Linked DNA regions of Homo sapiens: all the other regions are linked to region 3. Evidence: promoter capture Hi-C in human tissues and cell types (Jung and others, 2019). All regions are on one chromosome and are shown on one strand. The core of a region is centred on a gene start or on the middle of the fragment in contact, and the rest is flanking DNA. Distances in the headings are between cores, read along the strand shown.

What was found. Contacts are between HindIII fragments. The study calls those that stand out against the background at their distance.
Region 1: a contact is called between a fragment that was not itself captured here and the fragment with the promoter of OR2M3 in region 3, in 3 of the 25 tissues and cell types used here (mesenchymal stem cells, neural progenitor cells and small bowel).
Region 2: a fragment that was not itself captured here is called in contact with the fragment with the promoter of OR2M3 in region 3 in 3 of the 25 tissues and cell types used here (adrenal gland, small bowel and thymus).

What each region holds. Positions count from the first base shown.
Region 1 is chr1:248,229,834-248,232,660 of GRCh38, reverse strand. OR2M4 (olfactory receptor family 2 subfamily M member 4) reads right to left here and starts at 1,244. Exons shown (of 2, transcript NM_017504.2): 1 at 1,081-1,244. The HindIII fragment of the contact is 3,002 bases long and covers 9-2,827 here.
Region 2 is chr1:248,248,937-248,251,912 of GRCh38, reverse strand. No RefSeq gene overlaps it. Among named protein-coding and RNA genes, the nearest start is that of OR2M4, 19 kb to the right of the region's middle. The HindIII fragment of the contact is 5,547 bases long and covers 1-2,976 here.
Region 3 is chr1:248,195,921-248,198,940 of GRCh38, reverse strand. It overlaps OR2M3 (olfactory receptor family 2 subfamily M member 3), which reads right to left and starts at 1,676. Exons shown (of 2, transcript NM_001004689.2): 1 at 1,640-1,676. The HindIII fragment of the contact is 15,210 bases long and covers 1-3,020 here.

The DNA of each region.
Region 1 (2,827 bases), core at 260-2,759, 34 kb before region 3:
ATTTTGATTCTTCCATATGATTTTATGCCAATTATTAATGAAAAATGGAGAAGAATGAGGAAAATGATAGAAGGCACTTGACTAAGTGAGAGGAAGAATTAAGTGTCTGGAAGAGAGGTGAAGGCATATGAGGAAAATAAGTGCTAAAATTAGAGCTAAAATAGAAATAAAAAGAAAACAAAATAATATTAAGAGGGCCTGAAGTGATAAGAAATTTTGGAATATTAATGGCGATCAGAGAAGGAGAAACCACATAAACTATGAAGAGATCTAAGTGGGCACAAAGTCTTTGGAAAGAAGCTCAACCCCACTGAGTCCAGCTTTTCCCTAGACCTTGTGATTTTTACCAACCTGAAGATTTCCAACCACATATTGTAGCATATTCAATGTGTCCAGATTTCAAGAATGTCTCACACACTGTGGAATTTAACTAAATCAGATTTTATTAAATTTTTCTTTACTTCGTCTTTATAACATTGATTGTCAGAATTTTATGAATTAGTATATTTCATGAAAAATTAAGAACACAAATAAGAAAACTGGGTACTTTGTGGGAGTGAATCACTTCCCCAATAATTTCTAAACTAAAAATTTACACTGGGTGGTATGTAGAAAATTTTTAAGTCCAAATTTTCATGTATGTTTGAAGCAGTAGATAGACACCACTTGGTATATGATTGTTTTTGTAAATTCATGTTGAGGTGTAGATCCACCAGGTAGAAGATAGTTATGTTTCTCATAAAGCTTCAATAAATATTCAATAAATTAAAATAACCATTAAGAATACTATGTCTCTCTTTCTTCTTTTCCTTCATTTTTAGTATGAAACAGAAAGAGAGTCCAGGATTGCAGGAGAAATGAGGACATTTCCAGGATACTCCACAATTAGGTAGTTGTGAAGAACTACCTAATTGTAATAATCAGGTTGAGGAAGGCTTACACTTGTGTGATTCTGTATAGTGTTCCAAAAGCTTTTTAATGCACATGAACTCGTGATTTTCCTCAATAAAGTCATATAAGGTCAGCACAAGACATAACGGAATTTTTTTTCTTTTAAAGAGTGTTATATGTCTTACTCACAGGTGGTGATCAAGGGGAAAATTCGCCAAATCAGTTCTGGGTTCTTTATACTCTGGAATATAATAATCACTGCCTGAGCTGTATTACAACCTTTTCTTCTTTCTCTTCTAGAAAAGATTCAAAAGCAGCAACTCCAGTAGTCCAAATGACCCACTTGTCCGAAGGCCTATCCACCCTACAGCATCATGGACCTTAAATTCTATACCTCCACAAAATGTTAAATCCCCTGACATCAATTATAGATGGCATGCCTTCTTTCAGAATTTCTCCTAGGAAACAAAATCCATGTGGACCCCAAGGCTCTAGTTACTTTTTGCCAATACTGTCATTCTTTACTTGCTATAAAGTCATAAATGGCTGCCTACCTTTCTTTAGGAAGTAAATTGTGTTAATGAGAAACTTAAATCTTTACAGATTATTAAAATGCGATTAAAATTAAAACAGGGAATATTTATTACAAAGTAAATGAAATCTGTCAACCTGCCTTCTCAATTGTGTTAACATTTTTAACTTATTTCTAGTATATTGTATCAAATACTTAAGCTGGGCCGGGTGCAGTGCTTCATGCCTGTAATCCCAGCACTTTGGAAGTCCAAGGCAGACGGATCACAAGGTCAGGAGATGGAGACCATCCTGGCTAACACGGTGAAACACCATCTCTACTTAAAATACAGAAAAAAAAAAAAATTAGCCGGGCTTGGTGGCACGTGCCTATAGTCCCAGCTTCTCAGGAGGCTGAGGCAGGAGACTCGCTTGAACTCGGGAGGTGGAGGTTGCAGTGAGCCGAGATCGCGCCACTGTACTCCAGCCTGGTGGCAGAGTGAGACTCCGTCAAAAAAACAAAAACAAAAACAAAAACAAAAAAACACCAAATGCTTAAGCTGATATAAATGTAAATAAGCTCTTAGATGCCTAAACGTATGCAAGCATGTGATTGACAATTTAAAGGGGCACTAAAGACTTGTATGTGGCCTATATCTTTAAGATATATCCTTTGCATTTTCCAGTAAATTCACTATACTAATTCAAAACAAGTCTACATTTGGTCTTGCTTCTCTCCACTCTCAAAAGCTTTCATTTGTCTGCAGCAATGACTTTTTTTAAAGTTTAATTTAAGTTCTGGGATACGTGTGCAGAACATGCAAGTTTGTTACATGTGCCATGGTAGTTTGCTGCACACATCAACCCATCATCTAGACTTGTTTAAAATTTATTTATTTTTATTTATTATTATTATTTTTTTGAGACGGAGTCTCGCTCTGTTGCCAGGCTGGAGTGGAGTGGCACGATCTCGGCTCACTGCAACCTCCGCCTCCCGGGTTCAAGCGATTCCCCTGCCTCAGCCTCCCGAGTAGCTGGGACTACAGATGCATGCCACCATGCCTGGCTAATTTTTTTTTTTTTTTGGTATTTTAGTAGAGATGTGATTTCACCATGTTGGCCAGGATGGTCTTGATCTCCTGACCTTGTGATCCAGCCTCCCAAAGTGCTGGGATTATGGGTGTGAGCCACCATGCCTGGCCATCATCTAGGTTTTAAGCCTTGCATGCAACTCCTGGGGAAGGCATGAGTTGAACAGGTGAAGAGTAGCCAGCTTTCAACGTGGATCTCCAGAATTCTGGCAGCACAAGACTCTATGATTCTCAAAGATACTTGAGCTGCAAGGAGAGCTACTTAGAGAGATGACAGGGGCAGGACTCCATCCTGCGTAAAGCCCAGACAGTTTGGCATTGAAGTGACTGCAGTG
Region 2 (2,976 bases), core at 88-2,587, 53 kb before region 3:
CATGCTACAACATAGATAAAACTTAGATGAAGTGAAGCTATGCATAAAAGGAAACATATGACATACTAGAATATTCAAATTCATAGAGATAGAAAGATAACTTGACTGGTATGAGACTCATTTCTCTGCCAAGCATCACCATGGCAACCACACAAGTTTGTCTCCTTTGGGTTTTCTAATAAAGGGTTCTTATTAGTCTCTGAGAATTTCCCCGAATTTATCTAATAGAATAAGGCTCCAATTAGCTACAACTTTGGAGTGAATAAAATAAAGTTTTAACTCTTGCTAATGAGAGGCTATTTAATAAGACTCTGTGGGTGTTCAGCTTTGACAAACTCATTAAAAGTTTTCATATCACAATCCCAGAAGCCTGATTTAACAAGCCTCGGAACAGCATTCTTCCAATTAACTCCCTTCTTCCCCGTGCTTGGAGCAGAGAAACAGTTGCCTGTGATTAGTGATTTGCTGTCTTTGTTAATGATCAACCCCATCTCCATTATTATAAGGGAAAACAAAATAATTAAAGTTTTGTAGAGTTTATCAATGCTTTCAGGGCAGTGGAAGTGCCCTTCGACTTCTGTGTACTAACTTTGTTAATGATCTGTTGAGTAATAGAAGACCTCAGAATCTTTCTTAAACATTTTTAGAATAAATATAAATTAAAATATATGTATATATATAAAGGATATTATAATAAGTCCAACAAACCTAATAGTGGTTGAGAGAGATTGTGTGGCAAACTCTGAAAGCTAAAAAGTTGTTGAGATGATATTAATTCTAGTCTCTCTTTGCTTCTTAATATTTTAATGTACAGGCATTTAAGAATATTATAAATAATAACCCACTAGATAATCTTTCAGGCAATAATTTTATTTATATCTATATTTGTACAAAAAGGGGTGAGAGGTATTAAACCATTTTTTTCTGAGATCCTTTTCATCCCTAATTACTGCTGTAGTATATTACTGATAATATTTTACTTTCAATGATAGGTAGGCATGAGAGTGCTAAGGCATTGTAGATTAGTATAAATCATGAGCATACTGATGCAAAGACTCAGAAGCTCATCTTCACACATTGATTCTCATAGCCACTCACTTAGATGCCTCCCTGAAGGAAATACATACGGTGATCAATGCCAGGAAAAAAGGCCCTTTATTTTTATTTTGTGTTATTTTTTATTGATGCAAATATTTGTATACTTATGGGATACATGTGACATTCTGTTACATGCATAGAATGTATAATGATAATGTCAGGGGATTTGGGATGTCTGTCACCTCGAGTATTTATCATTTCTAGGGTTTGGGAATATTTCAAGTTCTCTCTTCTAGCTATTTTGAAATGTATAATGCATTGTTTTTAAGTATAGTCACTGTACTCTGTTACCGGGCATTAGAACATATTCCTTCTATTTAACTGTATGCTTGTATCCACTAATCAACTTCTCTTCATCTCCTTCTACACACACTCTTCCCAGTCTCTGGTATCTATCATTTTATCTTCTAACTCCATGAGATCATCTTTTTTAGTTCCCATATATGAGTGGGAATATGTGAGATTTGCAAAAGACCCTTTTAAAATCTCATTATTTTTGTCCGTTTTTCTTCACTCCTCAATTTAGTTGCTTATGGAGCTTTTTGAAATACCCTGTGTTCCCTCTATGTACTTTCTGCCTAAATTCACAGGCAAGCTCATGTCTTTATAGATGTGGCCACAGGAAGGCTCACACACTAAGAGGAAGGTAAAGGAAGGCCTCTCCATAAAAAAAAAATAAAATAAAACAAAACAAAGCAAAATTGTTTTGTTTGTTTTGAAACTTGTGTTTCAAAGACTAGTTGGATCACTCAGTTTACCATGTCACAATTCTATTTGTATTCATACTGAAATAGGCATCTAAGTGTTACAATTGCCTGTCATTATGGAAGCAAAGACTCTTTAAATATCCTTTAAGTAGTAGTTAAATTTTGGTTATCTAAAAAGTACATTTGAACCTTTCACCCAACATAAAATCTAAGAACTCAATAGCAATTTACATATAACATGTGGCCTCACCTTACTCCATTTCACTACTTCTACTGCCAAAATTTTGAGCATCCTAAACCCAATGTTCCACATCCTCTCATTCTCATGTTCATTTAGCTTTATGTAGATGTTAAACATCTTTTGTTTTGATTCTTTAATGATTCATAAAATTTTAGAAAAGCTATTGTGCAGCAAGTAATCTTCCTGAGCTTGCTTTATGGTATTATTAAGATTCATTCTATTTTTTTATTGCTCAAATATATTGCTTTCAGCTATTGTAAAATATTCCAATTTGTGAATACAAGAAAAATTATTTATCATATTATTTAGACACAGAAATTTTATATATCTACCATAGAAACAAACCTTTTGAACATGCCTTTGTGTGACTCCTAGTATACTGGAAGAAGTTTCTTGGGTTCTATGGAGAGAAATAGAATGGTTGGACTGTTTGGAATGTAAAAGTCCAATATAAAACATGGTGTTGATTTCTTTTCCAAAGTGCCAATATCGGTTTTCATTCTAGTCGGCAATGCTAAATTGTTTTGCTAATAAACATACTCAACAACATTCAGTATTGTTTGAGTTTTCTATTTTTTCTGCTGGAATGGGGATAAAATACCACTCTTGACAATTATGTCAGAAGTTTACTGGCCACGTGTGTCTGTTTTTCTGTGAAATAACTGCTCATATATTTTTCTTATTTTTCAGTATATATATATATATATATATATATATGAAGTTGAATCAAATAATATTATTAAATATAGGTGTATATTTATTTAGTATACTGTTTCATCTTAGTGCATAACTAGAATTTCCACCTATTTGAGGTATCTATCAATGGACAAAGTTTAAAATTTTTAACTTGGTCAAATTTGTCAATGATTGTATTTATAGTTATTACTTTATATGACTTGCTTAAGAAATTGATGTCTGCTCGGGAACATT
Region 3 (3,020 bases), core at 427-2,926:
TGACATTTGCACATACCCAGGGCAATAGTAACATAGAAACCATGAAAATCATCATCAGATTTCATGACACTGTGGTACTGTGCACAGGCCCAGAGCAATAGTAACACAGAAGTTATGAAATTCATGGTCATATTTCATGACACTGTGATACTGTGCACATGCCTGAGCAATGCCAACACAGAAATTATGAAAATCATGATGAGATTTCATGACACTGTGATACTCTACACCTGCCAGAGCAATAGTAACACAGAAACCATGAAAATCTTGTTGAGAAATTGAGAAGTCACTGAGGGAGATGATGGAAAAGAGACACTGAGTGGCCAGAATTTGATCAAAAAAGTTGTAAAGCATTATGTATCAGACAGCATGTGTAATCCACTGTGTAATCCACTGAGGTTGCTAAACTGACTTTACCCTTTTGTAATAGGAATGATCAGGAAACAACACAAAACAACAAATCTCTCATATTAGCAAAAATGAGCATAGCAACTTTATATGTAATATAAAAATGCAACCTGCATGTGCACTAACGATGGAATTTATAAGCATAACTACAAGAAGTAGCATTGATGAGTCTCACAAATAGAATGTTGAATGAACAAAGTAGATCACAAGGAATGCCCTCATGAATCCTATTATGAGTAATTTAAACACACATCTAAAAATCACTTATGAAGCACAGCAATACTGGAATAATGACTACCTACAAAATGGGCCTGAAAAGTTATATAATCAGAGAGAGTTAAACTGTTTTTCAAAGGCACTGGTAATATTTTAAAGCATTTTACAAAATGTATATCTAACATATTTTTGTAAATAAACATTTTATACTCTGAAGTTTAATAAAATATTTTAAAAATAGGTGTAAACGTCTTAAAAGAATACATGACAAATGTAAAGCATTCATTAATACGGGTTGAGGATTCCTTATCCAAAATGCTTGGGACCAGACGTGTTGCAGATTTCAGATTCTTTTTCACACTTTGGAATATCTGCATAGCTAATAATGAGATTTTTTTGGAATAGAACCAAGTGTAAGGAAAAAATTTATGTTCTATGTATACCTTATACAAATAGCCTGAAGGTAATTTTATGCAGTATTTTAAAACAATTTTGTGTATGGGAGAAAGTTTGTGAACCATCAGGAAGCAAAAGTGTCACCATCTCATGTCAGCACTGAAAAGGTTCTGATTTTGGAGTGCTTTGGGTATTAGATTTTGGTTTAGGAATTCTCATCCTGCATGAGCTAAAATTATTAAAAGAAAAGAGAACGTGGCCAAAATTTTCAAATCATTGTTTATGGTTCTCATCTGCTACTCTTCTCCTCTGACATCTATTCACTGTCAATTTCTTTTTCAAATCTGGAATACCAGGACATGGAAAAACAAAAGTAATGGATTTTATCCAATCTTTCACACTGATAAGCTGGAGCAAGTAACCACTCCTTCTGCCTCAGATTGTACCACATTTCTCAAAGTAATATTGTACAGATAAAATAGAATAATGTTTATAAAATTCTTAGCACAAAAAATGACTTAAGAAATGAGATCAATCATCACCATGTTCAGCAGAAATTTCAGCACTAGCTTATACAAAGTCATGCTTGCGCTTGGTTAACTTACCTCTTAGTACTTACCTGAATAGTGTATATTTTCAGTGAGATTGTGGTTTCCTGGAAAGGCAAAAATATATAAATATCTTACAGGTTTTATGTTTCCATAATAAGAAAAAAAAGCACCTAACGTACAGTTGGAATCTTTATGGTTATTGAAAAATAAATGAAAAGACAAAAACTTAAATTTTCAGCCCTTGGGGAATCCATTCCCTTGTCTTTAATTTTAAAAGTTTGTATTTCCTTCTGTCTCCTCTCCTAGGACATGAAGCCGAATTAGCTTCCTTTTCTTGAAAATACTACAAAGATAATTACGCCTCCTTCCTTGTAGATTAGGGTGAACTTTCTGAAACTTCCCCCTCTCTCTCACATGATGAGGTGAAACACACTAAGTGCTTTCTGTGTAACTGGCACTATGTTTAAAAAAAAAAGGTTTGTAAATTAACATAATACTTACAACCATTGTGTATGCCAGATACCCCTATTAGACACATGTATATATTATTATATAATATATTTAATTATATTGTCGTATGTTTTACATGTGAAACTGAGGGCAGAAGTAAATTGACGTCTCAGAGCTAGAGAATGGCAGTCAGGGTGTTCCAGGCTAATATCATTCCTCTTCCATGGTTTCTCTTCACTCTTCCTTCTGCTCCATCATCAAAGCAAGATATGTTTGGGTAGAATTGGCATTTTTAACATCTTAAAGTTCCCTACATAATTCTAATTCTATTTGTATGTTCTTTAGTATGTTTTCTATCCCTTAAAACGCCTGTATATATTTTCTGTCAAAGTCATTATAAAATTGAAATGTTTATAGGTATTTTATATTTCGTTGCTCTAGTGTATGGATTATTGTTTCTATTACATCTTCTATTTGTTTTTGTTAATATATAGAAATCTGTTAATTGTTGCTTATAGACCTTGAATCCAAGAATGGTAATTTTTTTGTATTCCTTAGTGAAGAGAAAAATATTACATACAATGGATGAAACAACTTTATATGTCTTTCCAATTTTATCTATTTTCCTTGCATCATTTGATTAAAATATATATATTTAAAATGTTGAAGAACAATATTCTTGAGTACCTGAAGCCTTTAGCGATATAGTTCACCATGACATATAGTGTTTGTTTGAGGTTTTGGTAGGTGTATTCAGCACATTAGCAAAATCCCATTGTATTTCTTTTACCAATGCTTTCTTCAATAAATGTTCACTGAATTGTATTGAATGATATCCTGTTTTTACTGAGATAATGTTATTGTTTTTCTTAAATTGTTCATAGCCTGAATTACAAGGATAGCTATTTGTATATTTAGAAATATTTCAGTGGATGACAATGTATAAAACAAATAAAACACCAATGTACCCATCACCAGCTTAAAATAAAATATTACAGG